Linked DNA regions of Homo sapiens: region 1 is linked to region 2. Evidence: promoter capture Hi-C in human tissues and cell types (Jung and others, 2019). All regions are on one chromosome and are shown on one strand. The core of a region is centred on a gene start or on the middle of the fragment in contact, and the rest is flanking DNA. Distances in the headings are between cores, read along the strand shown.

What was found. Contacts are between HindIII fragments. The study calls those that stand out against the background at their distance.
Region 1: a fragment that was not itself captured here is called in contact with the fragment with the promoter of MS4A15 in region 2 in 1 of the 25 tissues and cell types used here (adrenal gland).

Annotation. Positions count from the first base shown.
Region 1 is chr11:61,074,848-61,080,409 of GRCh38, forward strand. The region is part of intron 1 of LOC105369325 (a long non-coding RNA gene); the gene reads right to left. It overlaps LOC124902677 (a long non-coding RNA gene), which reads left to right. Exons shown (of 2, transcript XR_007062690.1): 1 at 1-1,344; 2 at 2,800-3,062. Among named protein-coding and RNA genes, the nearest start is that of LINC02954, 22 kb to the left of the region's middle. The HindIII fragment of the contact is 5,190 bases long and covers 1,381-5,562 here.
Region 2 is chr11:60,753,975-60,759,248 of GRCh38, forward strand. It overlaps MS4A15 (membrane spanning 4-domains A15), which reads left to right and starts at 2,893. Exons shown (of 7, transcript NM_001098835.2): 1 at 2,893-3,084. The HindIII fragment of the contact is 8,663 bases long and covers 1-5,274 here.

The DNA.
Region 1 (5,562 bases), core at 2,726-5,225, 320 kb after region 2:
AAATATTTTCAACACATGCAACAGACTAAGGATTAATATCCATTATATATAAAGAGCACCTACAAATCCACCAGGAAAGGACTGACAACCCCCACCAAAACAGGTAAAGAATATGAATAGATAACCAATGAAGAAACACAAATGTTTTGTGGATGCAAAACATATTTAAAAAGTGTTCAATCTCTCTACTAATTAAAGTAATAAAAATTTAAAACTCATGATATTTTATACCTACCATATTAGTAAAAGTCAAAAAATATTGGTAACATTCAGAATTGAGGACGTGGAAGGTAATCAAAGCTTTTCTTCCTTGACAGTAATAATGTCAATGGTTCAGCTTTCTTAAAAGAACAACTTGGGCATTATCTTTCAATATTTTTAAATGTTCATATCCATGCAGCAGCATCATATCTGGAAATCCATCCTACAAGATACTAAACACAGGTGCCTAAAGACATGTTTGCTGTGCTCTCCTTGTAACAGGCAGACAAATTGTTGATGAATGATAAAGAAGGATAAAATAAATCATGGTAGTCCCAGCTACTCGGGAGGCTGAGGTGGGAGGATTGCTTGAGGCCAGGAGTTTGAGCCCAGCTTGGGCAACATAGCAAGACCCCCATCTCAAAAAAAAATTATTGCACATTCATGTTATGGATGGCTGTGCAGATATTAAAGAGAATGACATAAATCTGCCTGTATCAACATGGAAAGTCACACACAATTTATTGGAAAGTGGAAAAAAAGAAATAATTATATAATAATCAGTATAATATTATCCCATTTCCATTTTGTAAAACAAATAAATAAATAAAGATTCAGATCAAATTTTTAGTGGTGGTTACAGCTGAGGAGTGGGGTCGGTGGGAGTGATAGGAAGATGGAATGTTGCTATTTAAAAATGTATGTTGGTCAAATTGAAAAAAAATAAAAGATATCCTTCACATATTTCAATAATGAAAAAAGCAAGAAATAAGATAAAATAAAATAAATGTAAGTTGGTGCTCTTTGAATGCGTCTTGATGATATCTGCAGTTTTGCACATACATATACTGTGTGTGTGTGTGTGTGTGTGTGTGCACACGCCTATATAATTAACAAAGAAACATATCCTCACTGGCCCTGTGCAAAGCTGTTACAATATTTATTTTAGGAATGAGGAAACAGTCCTGAGTTCTATCACTTGCCCAAGAAACTCACATGCTGTGAGTGACTACAAAGGAATTCCAGTCCCAGCCTGAACTGAAAGCCAGGGAGGACCCTTCCCTGCCAACTCGCCTGCCCTAAGCACAGAGCGTGGCTGTGCGAATTGCAGACTTGGTGGATGACGGCTGTGGGGAGTTAGAGGTAGGAAGTGATCATGCATTGTTTCTCCAAATGCTGTATTTAATAATATTTCAGATAATCAAAACTACTGTAGTCAACTGGGGAAGTATAGAATTGTTAAGAAGCAGGAAAAAAAATACCAACCCCCCAGAGACAATTACCATTAGTATTTTGGGATATTTCTTCCAATATTTTAATTGCGTTTATAAACATGGTTCATATTACATTGTAGGTGTGATTTTGCATCTCTCTTTGAAAACAACACTGTATCAGATTCATTTTCTTTTGTCATTAAAGTCTTCATAAACAACAAAATTTAAAAAGAGATCAATATTTTAAATAGCAGTAGTTTACTTACTATCTAATTTCATCCTGCTTACCTACCACCCACCCAAACCCAACCAGCAGAGCACCCAACTGTCCCATCTAAGATAAAATATACTCGGTACATATTCTGCACCAAGCAGAGAGGTGACTAAGACACGCTGTACCTCATAGCACACAGCAAAATTAACTCTGGGTGGATTAAAGAGCTAAAGGAAAAAAAAATCACAGAAAGACTTGAAAAAAGTTGATGAGAGTATTTATCAAACCTCTGTGTGGGGGAGGACTTTCTAACCCTAAAGCTATGGGAGAAACCACAAAAAAAAGATCACTAGATTTGGCTACCTAACATTTTGATACCCTGTAAACAACCTGAACAAAAAAGGTCAAATAGCAAGTGGGGTAAAATCTTTGCAACAAACATAAAAAAGATTAGTAGCCATCATAAATAAAGAGCTCATACAAATCAATATAAATCACCCACTGAGACCCAAATGCCTAACTGGGGAAAGGCTTAGGAGTGTGCTATCCAATATAGTAGCCACTAGCCACATGTGGCTATTTAAATTTAAATTAATTTAGGATTTAAATTAAAATCTTAGGTAAATTAAATTAAAATCAAGTTTAAATTAAAACCTTAGGTAAATTAAGTCTAAATTTAAATAAAATTAAATTTAAATTTTACTCAGTTATCTAGCCATATTTCAAGTACTCAATGGACACATTTGGCTGGTTGCTGCTGGACAGGCAGATATAGGCCACGTGGACCCTATTAAACAGGAAGATACAGGCCATTTCTATCATTGCAGAAAGCTTGATTGGAAAGCACTGCTTTAGACAGTGCGCAAAAGAAGACTCACCAGTGACCAATAAACACATTTAGAAATTCAGCTTCATTAGAAATAAAAGGAGTGCAAACTAAAACAAGGTCACATATTCATCTAGTTAGGAGTAAACAGGGTATTGCTAATTGAAGAGTAAAGAGTTACGGACCATCTGGAAAATAATTTGGCAATATAAGTTAAGAACTGTAAAAACCCTCAACCCAGCAATTCAGTTCCTGGGAATATGCGCAGCCTAAAGAAATTGTCAGAAATACACAAACCATTTTGTGCAGAAACGTATTGATTCCTAAATTATTTATTATTTCAGAGAGCCGCAGCCTGAAAGCCCAACCTCAGGGAAGTGATTACACCCATCAAGACCGACCACTCAATGGACGGACAAACCATCAATAAACATTATGTTTTGCCAAGAGGAACTAATGACTTGGGAAATACATACAAAAATAAATTTAAAAAACACCACATTCGAAACTGAAAGGTTAGGATAACATCAACTATAAAAATATGAAGACTATGCACAAGAAACTGCCAATTGCCAGAATAAATATCACTGGGTGATAGGATTCTGAATATTCTTTATGCTGTTCAGTAATTCCTGAATTTTTAACAAAGGTCATTTTCTGGTTTTATACAAAACTAGAAAGGTCACTAAAAATTCACAGGAGAGATAACCTAGTGATTAAGAGCAGGGATCTAAGCTGGCTGAGCCTTCGACGCCAATCCCCTGTTGCTCCCTGGCTCTCAGACCTCAGATGAGGTCAGCTCGGCTTCCTTGTCTGCAAAATTAATAACCACACCTGCCTCATAAGGTTTCTCAAGAACTGAGCAAGATGGTGCCTGCACAGTGCTGGGTAGAGTCTGTGCACATGAGCCCAGAACATACGTGAGGACTGCTGTTTGTATTAACATGGGAAATGCTTATGTTACTCTGTTGTCGCGTGACAAACCAGGACCCAGAATCTTCTATAGAACATGCTCTCAACTGGAAAAAATATGCTTTTTTTTTTTTTTTTTTTTGAGCCAGAGTCTTGCTCTATTGCCCAGGCTGGAGTGCAGTGGTATGATCTTGGCTCACTGCAGCCTCCGCCTCCTGGGTTCAAGTGATTCTCCTGCCTCAGCCTCCAGAGTAGCTGGGACTACAGGCGCACGCCACTGCGACCGGCTAATTTTTGTGTCTTTAGTAGAGACGGGGTTTCACCATGCTGGCCAAGATGGTCTCGATCTCCTGACCTTGTGATTCACCCGCCTCGGCCTCCCAAAGTGCTAGGATTACAGGCATGAGCCACTGCGCCCAGACAACATGTGCTTTTTCAAAAGTCCACAAAGACCAGGAGCTACTCCAAACTGCTGATGGCAGTTTGGGGAGATGGGAATAAATTTCCTCTCTTTGCTTAAAGAAGCATGAAAATATCTTTCTGTGCTTTCCAAATTGTCTCCAATGAGCATGCTATCTTCACAATGAAGGGGGGAAAAGCTTTATAAAGATAGAGAAAAGCTGAAATAAATAAAGGTTTAACTGGTTGTGCTGAGGAGGTCATCAGCTGGCACGCAACTGAGGCACACAGCCTCTGCAGCTGGTGGTTACTGGGGAGACCTCTGCCTTGTGGGATTCTGAGCTGATTTAATTTTTTTTCTTTCTTGAGACAGAGTCTCACTCTGTCACCCAGGCTGGAGTGCAATGGCGTGATCTCGGCTCACTGCAACCTCCATCTCCTGGGTTCAAGCGATTCTCCTGCCTCAGCCTCCTGAGTAGTTGGGACTACAGGCACCCGCCACCACACCTGGCTAGTTTTTGTATTTTTAGTAGAGACGTGGTTTCATTATGTTGACCAGGCTGGTCTCGAACTCCTGACCAACAGCCAGGTGAACTGCCTGCCTTGGCCTCCCAAAGTGCTGGGATTACAGGCACAAGCCACCACGTCCAGCCACATTTAATTTTTTTCTACATATTTTATGTATTTCCAAACTGTACAAGAGGTAGTAAATATTATTTTTCCCAACCAGAAGAAAAGACGTAGTTAAGAAAACTAAAGAAAACCTGGCCCTCTGCGTTGGGACTGGTGAGAGGGACGAAGGTAGATGGAAACAAGAACTGAGGGGCAGGGTGGGGGTGAGTGTTAGCACAGGGGCCCACCCTGCTGAGCCTGCGGGTGGGGCTGCAAAGCAAAGGCCTCCGAGCCTCCCCCTGCTCCACTCTGAGCCTTGTCTCCTCATCCACGCACAAGCCCAGGCCCAGCACAGCCGCAGACACGCCAAGGTGATGGGGGGCAGACTACCTGGACTGAGAAAGGGTTCTTTTTTATTTTCTAACCTTCCAATAAAACATCTGTGAATTTTTTCACTGTCAGATCAAATAAGAAAGGAACTTGCGTTTTGCAGTGCGTAGAGCTGATAACAGATCTATTGCATTTCTGAAATGTACAGAAGTTTTTTCCTCTTGAGAACCTGGGAGTAGTCGTCCCCACCCTGTCCCCAAAGCTGGGCCTAGTCATGACAAGCACTCCAAAACCCACAGGTCCCAGGTCCCCATACACCTGGGAAACAAAAGCATCTAACATCAAAAAGGACCACGGCCATAAGGAGGAAGAAACACCTTCTCAGGGTGAGGCTCGCCCACCCCCCTCTCTGCCAGGCCAGGCTTTGCTGTGTCCAATCCCCTCTCCTCATCTCTGAACTCCTCAAATTCCTGGGAGAGACGAAGCCTGTGAGGCCTTTTTGTCCACTAAAAGTAGGGGGCCAGTGGGACTTAGTGTCAGATCGGTTTTGCTGGTCATACTTCTGAGGTGCTGAATTTAGAATTTTGGTTGACATGAATGGGCTGTTCCTGGAGTCAAAGAAGCCTGTGGTGATGCAAAAAGAGATCAGGAAAATCCAAAGGAACAGGATAGTTTTGTGGGACACTCAGGGACTCTGGGGTCAGACAACAGAACCATCCACTCTGGGCCACAGCTATAATGCACGGACAAGAACCCATGCTTGTAGGATGGCAGTGTGCAGTAGGTTACACGGCTGCTGCATGAAAATTACTAGAATTAACCCTCTCTGGCCCCTTCTGTTGTTCCCACAGCAA
Region 2 (5,274 bases), core at 1,643-4,142:
AGTGGCTTGTACCTGTAATCCCAGCACTTTGGGAGACCAAGGTGGGTGGATCACCTGAGGTCAGGAGTTCAAGACCATCCTGGGCAGCATGGCCAAATCCTGTCTCTACTAAAAATACAAAAATTAGCTGGGCATGTTGGTGACGCCTACAGTCCTAGCTACTTGGGAGGCTAAGGCAGGAGAATTGCTTGAACCTGGGAGGTGGTGGTTGCAGTGAGCCCAGATTGCGCCATTGCACTCCAGCCTGGGTGACAGAGCAAGACTCCATCTCAAAAAAAAAAAAAAGAAAGTTCCAGAGAGGTGAGTGATGAGATAGGATCATTAGCAACATCATCTTGAAACCCTCCCCCAAAAGTGAACCCCAAAACATTCACAGCACCTCACCAATCTCCAAGGACTTTCTTACCATTTTCGACCCTCACAATAAACTGAGGCACAGTGAGCAGCCTTCAGTATCTTTATTTTTATTTTATGGAAATGTAGACTAGCTCAGTGCCATTTCACATTTTGCCCAAAATCACAGCAAATAATCAAGATAAACAACTAGGATAGGCAATATTTAGCAATGTCCTCAGAAACTATATAGTCTTTCCAAATACGTCCATTTTGTGCTGCTATAACAGAACACCTGAGACTGGGTAATTTATATAGAACAGAAATTTATGCCTCACAGTTCTGGAGGCTGAGACATGCAAGTTGAAGCAATAGCTAAAATTTAATGAGTGTTTACTATGTGCCAGGCAGTGTTCTAAGAATGGGGTTGGCAAATTACAGCCCACAGATCAGACCTGGCTCACCATCTGTTTCTGTAAATAAGTTTTTGTTTTGTTTTGTTTGAGACAAGTTCTCACTCTGTCACTCAGGCTGCAGTGCAGGGGCGCAGTCTCAGGTCACTGCAGCCTTGACCTCCGGGGCTCAAGAGATCCTCCCACCTCAGCCTCACGAGCAGCTGCGACATGTGTGTGCCACCACACCTGGCTATTTTTTTGTATTTTTTTTTGGTAGGGGTGAGGTTTCACCATGTTGCCCAGGCTGGTCTCAAACTCCTGAGCTCAACCAATCTGCCCACCTCAGCCTGCCAAAGTGCTGGGATTACAGACATGAGCCACTGCACCCAGGCATAAATAAAGTTTTATTGGAACACAGCCACACCCATTTGGGTATATATTGCCTATGTCTGCTTTGCACTACAATGGAAGAGTCACGTGTTTGCAATCGAAGTTATATGGGTCCCCAAAGCCCAAAATATTTACTATCTGATTCTCTCTTTTTTTTTTTTTCTTTTGAGATGGAGTCGCGCTCTGTCACCCAGGCTGGAGCGCAGTGGCGCGATCTCGGCTTACTGCAAGCTCCGCCTCCCAGGTTCACACCATTCTCCTGCCTCAGCCTCCCGAGACTACAGGCACCCGCCAACACGCCCGGCTAATTTTTTGTATTTTTAGTAGAGACAGGGTTTCACCATATTAGCCAGGATGGTCTCAATCTCCTGACCTTGTGATCCACCCGTCTTGGCCTCCCAAAGTGCTGGGATTACAGCCGTGAGCCGCCGTGCCCGGCCTACTATCTGATTCTTGAAAAAAGTTTGCCAACCCTGCTCTGAGTAGTTGTCATGTCTACTAATAATCAGGTTAGTGTCAGATCCTGGAAATGAGAGACTCAGTGGAGACGGTGCTATTTGGGAAGTCACAGCACAATCCCTCTGGTGATCCACTCTGAGCATCACGTGTTGGTCACACCTCCTAGGCTGAAGGGAGCCATGTTAGTAAGCCCTTAAAAATGTCAAATGGCTTCCCCCACCCCTTAATGCCAGCAGATTCTTATCCTGTGTTTTCTCAGCCATCTCCTTGGAGGTGCCTCCAGTCACTGAAAACCTTGCTCAAGAGCCTATGTGTCCTTTTCGCTCTATTTCTCTGCATAGGGTCCAACGCTGTCCCTTGCCCCCTTTGTTCACCAATATAGGTCAGACCTATCACAAAATAAATGGCACAGAGGCTTCCTGAAGACACACATATTTTGAGCACAGAACAGTGAGGCTGAGCCCTTATCAGCCAAGAGCGCTTGCAGAACCACAGAGAATCTGCTGCACAATCTGCAAGCTGGTGCTCTCCCGAGCATGCATAGTAGGTCTCAGAGCACTGGGAAGCAATGCACATCCACGGTCCATTGTAAGTCACTGGCTTAGATATGTTATATTTAACAAAACATCTCAGCCGCATCGTGTTATAACAAGTCACGTTGTAAGGGATGGATTTTATCAAGTTGGTGTGTGTTTCCCACCAAACTCTATGAGATTGGTATTATCCCTATTTCACAGGTAAGGAAACTGAGGCAGAGGGTGACCCTCTCGCTCCCGTGCCTCACAGTAACAAGAGGAGCCAGAATTCAAACCCTGGCTTCTATCTCAGACCCTTACACTGAACTGGTAAACTCCTCACACACCCATGCCAACAAGAAGGATGACTGTTTTCGATCTCATTGTATAATCTGGCAGATTCAGCACTCTGTTGTTTCCTGGTAAGCTCATCTCCTGACACCTGGGTAATGGGTGTTTTTTCCCAAAGTGTTTGCCCAGGCCAGCCACACCTAAAGTGTTGGGGTACATGGCAACATATCCAAGCTTATGTACGTGGCATTTGAGGTCAGGGCATGGAAAAATACGGAGGCACTGTGTGTATGTTATTTGTGCATAAGAATGTAACTCCTTGGCCCTAAAAACAGGACAAGGAGTGAAGTGTGTCATAAGGAACGCTGAAAACAGCCTCCTAAGAATGTGGTTTGAGAGCTTTTGCAAGGCCGCAGGTGTCTCATGACCCCACCTCAAAAAGCCATCTAGTGGATGTTTGTGGTTTAACAATCCCTTTCAATAAATACTTGGCGGACAGATGCTAGGGCAGGCTCTCACAAGGGCGGGCTCTCAGAAGAGCTGCCCCCACCCCCTCTCCCAGCCCCCTTCAGCTGAAATTGTCTAAGAACTCATTCTTGGCGTTCACTGCAAGCTATAAGCTCTGCAAGTGGTGACCCCGACGTGATCGCCTTGAAGTTACGCTTGAAGGAGGAAAACTCATCAATTTTCGGGGAATCCCGGTAAGGGACAGTCCTGACTCCCGTCAGGAGGATGGGACCCACGCGTAAAATATCAGGGGTTGGATTATCATGGGTCAAGAAATGACCAAAGAACAGAAAGTGTTTTTTAAAAACAGTGCGACAGCTACTTAAGGCTAACCAGTGCACTGCAGAGCCTGGAGCTCTACACAACGCTATGATCTTAATTCGGCAGGAATGCCCTTGGTTTCCTGATCAAGGAACCTTAGACTTGAGTTATGGAGCAGGTAGGTCACTGCCTGAAAACAGGATGTGAGCAAGGTCATTTTACTGAGGTTATTGTTTTGACCACCTGGGCGCCGGTACACTCGGTGTTGTATCCTCTTTATCTGCCAGATTGCAGTGGGTCAGACCGCCCGTCTTTGCCTGAAGGGAATTCAGGAGGTTTAAAGGAGAAGGAAGAACAGGAGCCAACCAGGACAGCGGGAGGCGGGCGGGGGGTCCTCTCTCTACTTCATTCCCTTCTGTAGGGCATAAGGAGGATATTTTTTTCTAGTGATCATGAGGACGGACCGGAGCCTTTTCCTCCCCCTATAGAAAAGCCATTGCCCTCTTTTCCTCCACCCTTAAAGGGACCTGTATTCGTTGGCCCCGTTCAGGCAATGGCGCCTCCCATCCCCCTTGAGGAGTCTGGAGGCCGCCCAAGAGATGGTTCTTGGATAAGACCTCCAGTCAGTGAATATCTATATGATCGGGTGGCCGTGTCCTCAACGCCAACTCCTCGTCAAACTTTCTTAGTAGAGGGGTGCCTCCAAGAGGGACTTAGGAAGGGAGACTCTGAGGCGCTTTTTGGCGCATTCCCTGTTATTGTTCAAAGCAACAGGAGATGGCATGAGAGTTTGCCTTTTACTGTCTTTAAAGAGTTAAAGAAAAGTATCCGTGAAAACAGTGTACATTCACCGTTTACGAAGGAGGTGATTGAGGCTCTGGGAAATGGCTATAAGATGACTCCACATGATTGGAAAACTTTGGTAAATGTTTTGGTTTCAGCTGCAGAATATACTGTGTGGTGGAGTGAGTACAGTGATTTAGCCATGCAGCAGTCCTTGCAAAATTTGGATAATAATATCCCGATACAACTTGATATGCTATTGGGAACAGGGCCTTTTGCTTCAGCTCAGACTCAGGGTCAAGCAGGTGGCCATCTATTTCCTCAATGCTCACAGCTAGCAATACAAACATAAAAAAAAAAAATCCCGTAAGACAATCCCAGGGTTCCTTTATAACAGTTAAACAAGGTGCCACAGAAACATACATTAAATTTATCAACCGACTGCAAGCTGCAATTGAAAAACAGGTATCCCATCCTAAGGCTACCAAACTTCTTATGTTACAATTGGCTTTTGAAAAAGCAAATAAGGATTGTCAGACAGCAATAACTCCAGTCTAAGCCACTGCCACTGAAATCAGTGTGTTTATTAAAGCATGCCAAAATATAGGCACTACAACTCATCTGACTCAAACTTTTGCTGCAATAATGACCGGAACCACATATTGTAATTGTGACCTAACCAGGCATATGGCAAAAATAACCCTGCTACTGTTTTCCTACCTTTAAGCAAAAAACAATTTCATACTCTTCTAGCTTGTGCTCTTGATTGGCAAATCGCAATAGCTGACTTTATTGGTAATATCAGCTTTCATTTACCAGCCTCTAAGCTCCTGAACTTTTTACAAACTGTGCCTGTTAAATTTGTATCTATTGTTGTTTCTGAGCCCTTGCTTCATGCCACTACTGTCTTTACAGATGGTTTAGGAAAAACTGGAAGAGCAGCTACAGTGTGGCAATAGGCCATGCAAAAATGGCAGCACAAAATCCAGGAACATTTTAAAACCACGCAACAGGCAGAGTTAGGTGCCCTGATATTGGCCTTACAAACTTTTCCTCACCAAGACATAAACATAGTTAGTGATTCCGCTTATGCGGTGTGTAGTATTACTCATTTAGATCTTGCACATGTGAAGGGCATTACTAATGAACCCCTACTAGCTTTGTTTCTTGCAGCGTAAGAGCTCCTCTGTGACCATCATTGTGGGGAAAAGAAAGAGAGATCAGACTGTTACTGTGCCTATGTAGAAAAGGAAGACAAAAGAAACTCCATTTTGATCTGTACAAAGAAAAATTGTTATGCTTTGAGACGCTGTTAACCTGTAACTTTAGCCCCAACCCTG